Regions from separate parts of the Homo sapiens genome. Here region 2 is linked to region 1. The links are contacts of gene promoters, found by promoter capture Hi-C in human tissues and cell types (Jung and others, 2019). All regions are on one chromosome and are shown on one strand. Each heading gives the region's core, a stretch centred on a gene start or on the middle of the fragment in contact. The rest is flanking DNA. Distances are from core to core; before and after follow the strand shown.

The links. Contacts are between HindIII fragments. The study calls those that stand out against the background at their distance.
Region 2: a fragment that was not itself captured here is called in contact with the fragment with the promoter of ZNF605 in region 1 in 2 of the 25 tissues and cell types used here (H1 embryonic stem cells and IMR-90 fibroblasts).

The regions. Positions count from the first base shown.
Region 1 is chr12:132,954,848-132,960,695 of GRCh38, forward strand. It overlaps ZNF605 (zinc finger protein 605), which reads right to left and starts at 1,459. Exons shown (of 5, transcript NM_183238.4): 1 at 1,396-1,459. LOC124903064 (a long non-coding RNA gene) reads left to right here and starts at 1,702. Exons shown (of 2, transcript XR_007063552.1): 1 at 1,702-1,883. RefSeq lists enhancers at 177-1,007, 436-730, 1,008-1,836, 1,590-1,669 and a silencer at 1,090-1,429. The HindIII fragment of the contact is 15,452 bases long and covers 1-5,848 here.
Region 2 is chr12:133,255,274-133,261,695 of GRCh38, forward strand. No RefSeq gene overlaps it. Among named protein-coding and RNA genes, the nearest start is that of ANHX, 23 kb to the left of the region's middle. The HindIII fragment of the contact is 4,704 bases long and covers 1-4,384 here.

The DNA.
Region 1 (5,848 bases), core at 209-2,708:
ACAGGTCCACCATTAACTTACATCCAGACTCCCTTGTCACAAATACACAGCGCCATTCCTAATGCTTCCATCATAAGATCCCCAAACACAAGCACAGAAACAAACCCCAGCCACTCGCCAGCATAGGCCACCCCATACTCGCCTCCGCTATTGGAGACAGGGGTTGAAAGAGCAACCACTGTTATTCAGCTGTCAAATAAAACATACAACTGGACAGAGCAAAGAAAGACGGTTCCAAAGGGTTATTGGAAGTGGGGAAAAAAAGACGCGGAAGAGGGTTGGGAAGGGGAAGGAGAACGGGCTTCTGGGAAGAACCGTGAAGCCACGAGACTCACGTGCATCTCTGCAAGGCAAAAAGGGTTTTTCTTTCACAGAGAGGTGTGAACAAGGTTAGCAAAGACCAGGCCTGGCCAAGCGAGGTGGAAGTGCGGGCGACCAGACAGCAGAGCGGGGAAAGCTTGACCCTGAGCCAGCCTGTTCTCAGGCGAGGCTGCGTGTTGGCTCAGGCTGGGGATGGGCCAAAGCTCAAGAAAATGGGGAAAGGAAAGAAGCTTAGCTAAAGTTTGCTTAAGGAGCATTTTGCTCCGACCGCTCGGTGGAGTTCAGCCAGTCACCGATGAGGCAAGCGACGGCAACGTGGCAGGTCTGTGTGAACAAGGGGCATCCTGGAGGCTGACCAAAGTCATATAGGGAACGGGAGATCTTTGCAGTGAGCCATTTGCTGGAACCCAAAAGGGTGGGAAATTCCTCAACCTTCGCTGTTTTCCAGGAGCACAGGGCTCTGGTGAAATCCAACACTGTCACAGCCGGCAGGCTTTCCAGTGAATGGAACCCACACAAGCAAGCCCCTAAGCCCTCCAACGCAGGCCCCCGCAGAAGCCTCATCATTCACCCCGCTGGCCTCCAATGCTCACCCAAAGGCATCCAAATCATTCATCAGCAGAGTCCTAATCGCTGCAGACAAATCCTCCACACGGCCTCCCAGGGGCCCCTCTCCCCTGGGGCCAAGGGCAACCTCGCGTCCCCTTGCCCCGCCCGTGCTGCACCCCAAGTCTACAGCGACCTCCATAGGCCCCCAGTGAATCGCCCAGCTGACCCCAAATCTCCCCCGACACCCACATTCAGCGCCCCGCCGCCGCCCGCCCTACAGCCCCCACCCCACCCTCTGCCTCCCACCCCCGCGCGCCCCCAGAGCCCCCGCCTGAGGCCCGCCTTCCGCGCATGCGCCCAGGCCGGTCCGCAGGCCTTTCTCGCCCCAGCCGGCAGCCAGCTCGTTCGCGCTGGGGTCACCGCGAGCCGGTCCGCAGCGGGGTCACCGCGATCCCCGGCGCAGACACAGAGGCCGCCCCCAGCCCCGCCGCCTCGTGGTCCCGCCCCCGCTGCACGCTCCCTTACCCCTCGGACCTCGCAGGGCCGCGGCGGACACGGCCCGATCGGGGACGTGAACGCGCAGAACTACATTTCCCAGCGTCCCGCTCGCGCTGGAACTACACTTCCCGGGGGGCTCGGCGGTGCACCCGCCGGGGTCGCGGATTGGAGGTTTCCGGTTGGAAAAGCCCCTTGGCGGCTAACTGGGGAGGACTGGAAGAAATCTAGGATGGAGCCAGCACTGCTGGCCCAACATGTCTGTGAGAGAACCTAAAGGCGCCTCCAGGAGGAAGCGTCTGCATCTTTTCCTTGTTTTTTTTTTTTTTTTTTTTGGAGGCAGGGTCTCGCTCTGTCACCCAGTGGGGAGTGCAGTGGTGCCATGAACGCTCATTGCAGCCTCAGGCTGGTCTCCGACTCCTGGGTTCAAATGATCCTCCTGCCCCAGCCTCCCAAAATGCTGGAATTACAGGCATGAGTCACTGCGTCCGGCTGCTTTTCCATTTTTCATCGTAGCTGTAAGTAATATCGGTAAATGTTAGTGTTACGTGCGTCCGTATAGGAGACCACCTGAGCAGGCTAAGTGTGAGCAACACGCCTGTTTATTCACTTGGGTGCAAGTGGGCTGAGTCTGAGAAAGGAGTCAGCGGAGGGTGGTGGGCTTGTCATTGGTTCTTATAGCTTTGGGATAGGATAGGCGGTGGAGTCAGCAGCAATTTTTTTTTTTTTTTTTTTTTTTGAGACAGAGTCTCACTCTGTCGCCGAGGCTGGAGTGCAGTGGCGCGATCTCGGCTCACTGCAAGCTCCGCCTCCCGGGTTCACGCCATTCTCCTGCCTCATCCTCCTGAGTAGCTGGGACTACAGGCACCCGCCACCACGCCCGGCTAATTTTTTTGTATTTTTAGTAGAGACGGGGTTTCACTGTGTTAGCCAGGATGGTCTTGATCTCCTGACCTCGTGATCCGCCCTCCTCGGCCTCCCAAAGTGCTGGGATTACGGGCGTGAGCCACCGCGCCCGGCCTCAGCAGCAATTTTTTGCGGGCAGGGGAGGATGTTACAAAGTACATTCACAAGGGCGGGGAGGGTGTATTGTCACAAGGGCGGAGAGGAATGTTACAAAGTACATTCACAAGGACCGGGAATATTACAAAGTACATTATCACAAGGGTGGGGGAATGTCACGATGGCTTGACCATGGTGCGGCCAGCTCAGAGGACCTTACATTTAGTACATCCAATCCAGCAGTATTGACAAAAGGAATGAAAATAGATGATAGGGTTGGGCGCGGTGGCTCACGGCTGTAATCCCAGCACTTTGGGAGGCTGAGGTGGGCGGATCACCAGGTCAGGAGATTGAGACCATCCTGGCCAACACGGTGAAACCCCGTCTCTACTAAAAATACAGAACATTAGCTGGGCGTGGTGGTGGGCGCCTGTAATCCCATCTACTCGGGAGGCTGAGGCAGGAGAATCACTTGAACTCGGGAGGCGGGGGTTGCGGTGAGCCATCATGCCGCTGCACTCTAGCCTGGCAACAGAGTGAGACCTCATCTCAAGAAAAAAAAAAGGAAAAATAAATGAGATGAGGACATTACAGGGAAATAAAATATATTTATGGATATATAAAGCAGTGGCTTGTCCCTGTAGTCCCAACTACTGGAGGCTGAGGCAGGAGGATTGCCTGAGCCTGGGAGGTTGAGGCTGCAGTGAGCTATGATGGCAACACTGCACTCCAGCCTGGGCCACAGAGGGAGACACCTTCTCTTAAAAATATTTTTTGGCCAGGCCAGGCGCGGTGGCTCACACCTGTAATCCCAGCACTTTGGGAGGCTAAGGCGGGCGGATCACCTGAGGTCAGGAGTTCGAGACCAGCCTGACCAACATGGTGAAACCCCATCTGTACTAAAAATATAAAAATTAGCCAGGTGTGGTGGCTCATGCCTGTAATGGCTCATACCTGTAATCCCACCTACTCAGGAGGTGGAGGCATGAGAATTGCTTGAACCCAGGAGGCAGAGGTTGCAGTGAGCTGAGATCTCACCACTGCACTCCACCCTGGGAGACAGAGTGAGATTCTGTCTAAAAAAAAAAAAAAAGAAAAAGAAAAACTGTAAAAGCATATTAGTTTTTTAAAATAAAAATGGGGAGAAACAGGAAACACACTCACAATTGGCAATTTAAAAAATTGAAATGGCCATAAAGACCAAATTAAAGTATATATGAAATAATATTTTGCTCAATTCTATATTAGTAAATTTGGAGCCTGTGAGAGATGGAGTTTTGCTCTTGTCGCCCAGGCTGGAGTGCAGTGGCACAATATCGGCTCACTGCAGCCTCCGCCTCCTGAGTTCAAGTGATTCTCCTGCCTCAGCCTCCCGAGTAGCTGGGATTGCAGGCGTGCGCCACCACGCCCGGCTAATTTTTGTATTTTTAGTAGAGACGTGGTTTCACCATGTTGGTCAGGCTGATCTTGATCTCTTAACCTCGTGATCCGCCTGCCTCGGCCTCCCGAAGTGCTGGGATTACAGGCGTGAGCCACTGCGCCCAGCCACTCCCAGCTACTTTTTGTATTTTTAGTAGAGATGGGTTTCACCATGTTGGCAAGGCTGGTCTCAAACTCCTGACCTCTGGTGATCCATGCGTCTCGGACTCCCAAAGTGCTGGGATTACAGACCTGAGCCACCGTACCCAGCCCACATTGCCCTGCTTCTAACTGAGATTCAACTTTATTTAAGCAAACCAATTCCATGCTCAACAGAGCTAAAATTAAAATTCTGCTTTAAGGTAGTTTTGTTTTTGTTCTCAGAAAATTTTGCTGTTCACAGATTTATGATTTTCACTTTTCTCCGAGGTTAAGCGTGTCATTTATTAAATGACTTACTAGAATTTATACGCCTTTTTTTTTTTTTTTTTTTTGAGATGGAGTCTTGCTCTGTCACCCAGGCTGGAGTGCAGTGGCGCGATCTCAGTTCACTGCTACCTCTGCCTCCTGGGTTGAAGCAATTCTCCCGCCTCTGCCCCCCGAGTAGCTGGGATTACAGGCACCCACCATCATGCCTGGCTAATTTTTTGTATTTTTGTAGAGACGAGGCTTCACCATGTTGGCCAGGCTGGTGTCGAACTCATGACCTCAGGTGATCCGCCTGTCTTGGCCTCCCAAAGTGCTGGGATTACAGGCATGAGCCACTGAGCATGGCCATGGCCTTTTCTTTCATTCCAATTTTGGTCAGGAAAGAAAACAGTTTCTCTCTCTAAAAAAAAATTCCATGGCTTAAGTAAAACTTGTAAGTTTAAAAAAAAAAAAAACTGGCTAAACTCTTAAGTTCAGTTCATTTGGCACATCTGAAGTCCCATTTTAAATGACCAAAGCCAGTAAAAAAAACTTTGTATAAAGACAGAGATAAGTCTTAAAGATAAGACACTCTTTCTCCCAGCCACAAGATAATTTAGTGACTTAGGTTTTGTGAAACTTTAAGCTCATCGTTCATGACATACGTTGGACCCATAAGACTCCCCTCAACAAAAAAAATACAAAAATCTCCTAGTGCCCTAAGTGCCCAAAATTACTGGGTTTCACCAAGACATCTATTGAAAAGTGACTCTTCAATAAATAATCCTTATTAAGCAGCATACCAGATCCAACAACTCTTTCCCTTTCAGTCTTTGATCTTTAAAACAAAAACCCCAAATTATGGACATTCATCCATCTAAAACTGAGTCTTTCCCCTTCAAAAGAAATACACCTTTAATGGCTGGATGCAGTGCCTCACGCCGGTAATCTCAGTGCTTTGGGAGGCTGAGGTGGGTGGAGCACAAGGTCAGGAGTTCGAGACCAGCCTGTCCAACATGGTGAAACCCCGTCTCTACTAAAAATACAAAAATTAGCTGGGCATGGTGGCCGGCGCCTGTAATCCCAGCTACTTGGGAGTCTGAGGCAAGAGAATTGCTTGAAACAGAAAGGTGGAGGTTGCAGTGAGCTGAAATTGTGCCACCGTATTCCAGTCTGGGCAAAAGAGCGAAACTCCATCTCAAAAAAAAAAATATATATATACCTTTAAGTAACTCCAGCTAAATTCATATATAGTACTTATGATGCGACCTCCTGTCAATATCTTTTAAAATGGTCTTATTTAACCCATAAAGACCCCAAACTACAAAGACCAAAATGAAATGACATTAAAAATACCTTAATTAGTTTATTTACGTGCATAATTTTTAAAAACTGAGTCTAAAATTTTTAAAAAATTGAAAGTTACTTTCAATAATACTAAAAAGCATCTAAAAGAGACTGAAAATTTCTTTCCCTACAGAAAAAATTAAACTCTTTAGAACTATTGATATATTAAAAAAGGAAACTGCCAAAACTTCTCACCCTTCTGCTTCTGCATCTCTTTATCCCTCCTTCTCCAAACTGCCTTGCCAAGACTTGACTTCTTTTTTCCTCCTCCCCATACAATCACTTATCTTTTGTAAATTAATATGTA
Region 2 (6,422 bases), core at 783-3,282, 300 kb after region 1:
TGTGATTTTCTCTAATTTGGTGTTGACTTACATCAGGATTTAGTAAACAGGCCTAAACAAGTTATTCCACAGGGAAAGGTAAAGTGAATCAAAGAGGACATTTAATTGAGTAGTCACCTTGAATCTCAGTGGGTGGGGCTGGTGATATCTGAAAGCTACAGCACTTCATGATCACTCAACAAATCATGTTGGCTGATTTATGCTGTGGAATAGTCAGTGGTCTTCAAATGAGAATGCATGTTGTTGGGGATATGGGAAGACCTTCCAGGGACATGAATAGTTTTAAGGGAGTCATTTTCTAGACTCTCAACTTTCACATGTGTTCATTGGTTAGAGGGAACTGCCTTCAGATGCACTTGGGATGGAGGTGCAGCCTCTGCACACTAACGGCAAATTGAAAATACAAATATTGATCCAGGGAAGTGACTGAGATGACTGAGTGACAAATCCCATGCTGATCAGATAGTTTCCAAGCCTTTTCTTTCAACAAAAGTAATGAGGGTCATTTAGGTATTAGCTCACTGTATTAGTCCATTCTTCCATTGCTATAAAGAACTATCTGAGACTGGGTAATTTATAAAGAAAAAAGGTTTAATTGGTTCATGGTTCACAGGCTGTGCAGGAAGTATGGCTGAGGAGGTCTCAGGAAACTTACAATCATGGTGGAAGGCAAAGAGGAAGGAGACATTCTATGTGGCTGGAGCAGGAGGAAGAGAGAGCAAAGGGGGAAGTGCTACACACTTTTAAATAAGCAGTTCTCATGAGAGCACACTCATGATCACAAGAACAGCAAGGTGGAAGTCTGCCTCTATGATCCAGTCACTTCCCACCAGGTCCCTCTTCCAACACTGAGGACCACAATTTGGCATGAGATTTGGGTGGGGACACAGATCCAATCCGCAGTGTGAATTGCTCAGTGTGAAAGTTACAGTGGAACATTTCAAATGAACAACACTGCATTTGAAGAAGTGCACTTGAAAATGAGGGCTCCTGAATTAGTCTCATCTAGGGATACCTATTGATATGCAGAAGCTTCTAAAAAGATTTCAGTATTTTTATTTAAAGACTCTTTATAAAAAGCAAATAAAAAGCTCAAGTGACTAATTGATAAGAAACATTAAATTTGCTAACCTTTTGGCTTGGTCATCATCCTACCTCGAAGGTGAAAAGAAAGTTATCCTAGATAGAGTGTTTTTAAAAGGTAAGCTCTCAGGTAAAGTAGGTTCTTGCTTCTCTTTCAGATCTCTCCATGCTGAGTCCAGGCATAGAAAGTGCTTTCTTTGCCCTATTCTTTAAGGGCCTCCATCATAAACTCAGTAATTTCAGCTAAGAAACAGTAGCAAAGTTAAAAAAGACCACCTGTCAAACTAAAGTACACCTTTCTGGAATTTAGCTGGCTACCTTTAAATCCTTTTGTGAAATAATTTCACAGTTATAAAGGAAATCTCCATTTTTATGGTGTCTGTGTATGTATATTAGAAACTCTTACCATTTTTTTAAATTCACACAACAAATCATACCTTTGTTTAAAGTTCTTTTCTGGCCATCTTGTCTTAAGTGAACTTTTACTTACACCTTTTTTCCTTTGTTTGACCAAATAATACATTATTTAGGCCTAAAGGCTTAGCTCTGTGCTTATAAAATATAATTTTTTGTTTAAAAAATTAAAAAATTATAAAATTATAAAATTTGTTTAAAAAATTATAATTTTTTGTTTAAAAAATTATAATTTTTTGTTTAAAAAATTATAATTTTTTGTTTAAAAAATTATTATATTTTGTTTAAAAAATTATAAAATATAATTTTTTGCTGGGCAGGGCGCCATGGGTCTATAGTCCCAGTTACTTGGTGAACTGAGGTGGAAGGATTGCTTGAGCCTGGGGAGGTTGAGGCTGCAGGGAGCTGTAAACACAATACTGCACTCCAGCCTGGATGACAGAGTGAGACCCTGTCTCAAAAACACAAAACAAAACAAAAACAAAAACACGACATGCTTTTGATGGGGAAAGTTATGAAGGCATAAAAATGTGTGTTTGCTAAAAAAACTTGTCTAGTTTGAAGTTACTTAAAGGTTTCAAATTGAAGGAGTAAAAAAAGATAAAACTAGATAAATATAGAAAGTTAGGGAAAAGTATAAAACACAAAAGGTTTATAGAGTTTATAGAAATCTTATGTGTTCAAAAGATGACAGACTTGATTTATTTATAAGATTTTATTAAATATTAGCTTTATATGTATAGTGCACTAATACAAAAATAAAATTAGTTTTTCTCTTCTGAACAAAAATTTCATGTAGTGTTAATAAGACAAAGTAAAATATTTTTGTTCACCTTTTGAGTAAACTGCAAAGAGAAAGACAGAGATAAGAGAAAAGAGAAGAGACAGAATTTGTCTCATGCTGTCTGAGATCTTTTGATTGGAAAACTGAGTCTCCTCTCTCAAAGAGTACAGGTTTTTGTTTAAAAAATCCTTTAATTATCACTTTGGCTAAAAGAATGACTATTATTTTATGGTGACCTGTGATCTTATTTTGGTAAAGTGTTTTAAACCTTTGACATATTTGATTGGCTTTCTAAAAATCAAATTTCAACTTCAAAGTTAAGTCTTTTTTCACCTTTTAACTTTGGGATGCTACAAAGGTCCCCTGAAGCATCCAAAAGGGAGATAAACGGATTATTTGACATGTGAAATTACATGGGAAGCATTATCAAACAAGAAAGGATGGCTTAACCTTCTTAAGTTATATCTTAAAGAATATGTTATTAATATATGTTCCAAAGTTATGTGGGATTTCTAAAATCCTAATATGTCTGGGTATATGCTATCAGTCATAATTCTGGTTATTATGTTGAGTTATTGTAAACCACAGAAATAACCAAATTTCCTTTTCAATTGTCTTTATGACCATTTAAATTCATTTCCACAGTTAATTGCTTAATTCTGATGCAGTTTCTTAAAACTTCACAAGCACATAAAATCCTAGAATATGGTGTCTTTAAGGAGATTCATGAAAGGATGGAAAGAACCCTGACACAAGCTCTCAAACACAAGTTTCTAATAACTTTAGGACCACATCGTTTGGATTGGGTAAAAATTCCTGGAACTCTAATGAAGAGACTGGCTGGTTTATAAAACTACTAAGCCAGGCAGGAAAAAAACTAATTGAATACCAAGAAAATATTTTGCCAGATGTTCATGCTAAATCAGCTAGTACTTAAATTGTTAAGATATGCAATTTAAATGAACTCCATGGTCAAAGTCAAATTACCCATGATAATCTATTGGTTATCAGTGCTATGCACCTAAATTGGAGAAACAATCAGTATTTAAGAGGATATAAGTCCAATGTTAAGTGTGGGCTCCTGGAGAGCAGCTGCCTCATCTTCCTGAGTCCTTAAAGCTTTTGTTATTAAAATCTCTGCATTCCATGACTCATTATCTAAGAAATAAAATGATCCAAATTAAAAATATATATATTTTTAGGCCGAAAAAACTTTTCCATGCTAGAGGGCTAATTTTATAACAGTAGCAAAAAGGTTATTAGAAAATGTGTTTTCCTCATGGGACATTCCTGAAGAAATCTCCAGTGATGGAAGTACTTGTTTCACTGGACAAATTTTAAAGCAGTTAAATAAGGTATTATAAATACGACAACATTTGGTAAAGCTAACTGAAATGACTGGATTGCTTTGGTCAAAGGTATTTTATATTAATGGCAATCAGATCTACTTCCAGTGTAAACCATAAGGTGATACCTTACAAAATAGTCACTGGAAGACCTATTCCCCTAATAATACAACCTCATTTATCTTCCACTACTGAACTCTGATATAACTAAATGCTGCAAGGCTTTAATGCATTATGTCAAGATGTATTTTCACCAGGTAAAGAAATCTTTTTTATGGTCTACTGACCGAGGACAATCAAACCCTTCACAATCTAGAACTTAGAGACTGGGTCTTCTAAGAACAACATCAGATAAAGACTGCCCTTGCCATCCCCATTGCAGCAAAACTTCAGGACCTTGAACCTTGGGTTCATAATGTCACAGTTCAGATGCCCTTGCCATCCCCATTGCAGCAAAACTTCAGGACCTTGAACCTTGGGTTCATAATGTCACAGTTCAGATGCCCTTGCCATCCCCATTGCAGCAAAACTTCAGGATCTTGAACCTTGGGTTCATAATGTCACAGTTCAGATGCCCTTGCCATCCTCAAGTTTTGGTCATTGTATTAGTCCGTTCTCACATTGCTACAAAAAAACTACCTGACACTGGGTAGTTTATAAAGAAAAGAGGTTTGGCCAGGTGCAGTGGATCATGCCTGTAATCCCAGCACTTTGAGAAGCCAAGGCAGGCAGATCATGAGGTCAAGAGATCCAGACCATCCTGGTCAACATGGTGAAACCCCATCTCTACTAAAAATACAAAAATTAGTTGGCTGTGGTGGCACATGCCTATAGTCCCAGCTACTTGGCAGGCTGAGGCAGGAGAATCGCTTGAAGATGGGAGGTGGAGGTTGCAGTGAGCCAAGATCGTGCCAATGCACTCCAGCCTGGGTGAAAGAGCAAGACACTGTCTCAAAGAAAAAATAATAAATACAAGAGGTTTAATTGACTCACAGTTCCGCAGGCTGTTCAGAAGGCATGGTGGGGGAGGCCTCAGGAAACTTACAATCATGGCACAAGGTGAAGGGGAAGCAAACACATCTTCACATGGCAACAGGAGAGAGAGAGAGCAAAGGGGGAAGTGACATACACTTTTAAACCATCAGGTCTAATGAGAACTCACTCACTATCACAGGAAAAATGAGGGAAAATCCATCCCCATGATCCAATCCCACCTCCCACCAGGTCCTTCCCCTAACATTGGGAATTATAATTCAACATGAGATTTGGGTGGGGACACAGAGCCAAACCATACCAGTCATACTCTCACCTAAGTGAGAACTTGACAAAAAGGGTGTAATTCTTAAACAAAATTATGGGAGGCCATTGTTTTGAACTGAGCTCATACACTAGGCCCCAACAGACCAGACCAAACCAAAATGGAGTCACTCATACTACATATGGCATAATTTAACTAAGACTTTAAGGAAAGAGATAGGTCCTAGAACTGACAAGGTTTTGTTTATCTCCTGTAAACAGGAGAGTCCAGCACAAGGAAGTACCCTCTGCTCTAACCCTTATCAAAATAAATAACCTGATGTCCTTGTACCTACCTTACAAAACCCTCTGTTCTGCTATTGTACAGTGGATTTCAAGACCAAATCAGTACATTTACATTGATGATAGTGACATCAATTACTAATGTTTTGGTCAATCTCTCAAAATCAAGGGGATGATCAAAAGGGGGAATTTGTTAAATTAAGCTTAAACAACTCTCTTCTCATCTCCATACACATCATATCTGACCAATGTCTTTATATGTGTATTCTATCATATCTGTTCACAGAATTCTTATTTCCCATTTGGCAGAAGAGGAAAGAGAGCTGCCAAAGAACAAATGATGTATCCTGGTGATGGGGCCAATCTTTGAATCCAAGCCCTGTCCCAAGATGTTTCTATTCTAAATACAGTGGAATCAGGAGAAGGATAAGCTACAATTTTTTCTCATGTGTATATATGGAGCAGGTAACTGACAGATTCTCAGGTGAGATTACTGACAAGCCAGGGGTTGCAGACCGAATTGTTAGACCCAGTTTGTGACTCCCTGTGGTTGGACAGAGTATACTTCCTTGACCATGTGACTTGTTTTGGCCAAAGGAATGATAGTGGATTTGACACAAGCAGGTCTTGAAATGTTTGTGGGGCTGCCCTTGCCTTCTCCTGCTTTGTCATCACGAGTTACTCCTGGGTATCTGTAACCCATTCAGCTTGAGCCTCAGAATAAGACAGATAGAGCATGCCTGGGCCATACCTGAACCTGGATCTAAGACCAGACGAGCTGAGTGAAGACCCTCAAACCTCAGCTGACCCACAAACTCATGAGCAAAAAAAACACTAAATTTGTGGTCACAAGACATTAAAATTTTAAGATTGATTGTTACCCAGCTGACTGACCTATCAGATTATGGAGGGATGATAACAGTTATGTGAAGAGGTAGCCCAGTGAAGAATGGGGTGAATTGGAGAAGTTTCGATGAAGAAGGTGAGTCTTGAACTGAAGCTTTACTTCCATCTCCTCCAAATCAGCCTAAGCCAGGGTAAATGAGTTAATTGTGATTGTTACTCAGACTAAAAGTATCTTAAATCTTCTAACATTGAAGTCTTGCCAAATACAGACTAGCTATCAAGGCTCAAGAGATCTTTGACATTAGCTGTAAACATTCACCTTGCAATGACTCCTGGGAAAAGAACAATCTCATGAGTGAAGTTTCAGCTTGCTTTGAAAATAAGAATAATAATTTAAAAGAAGCAAAACT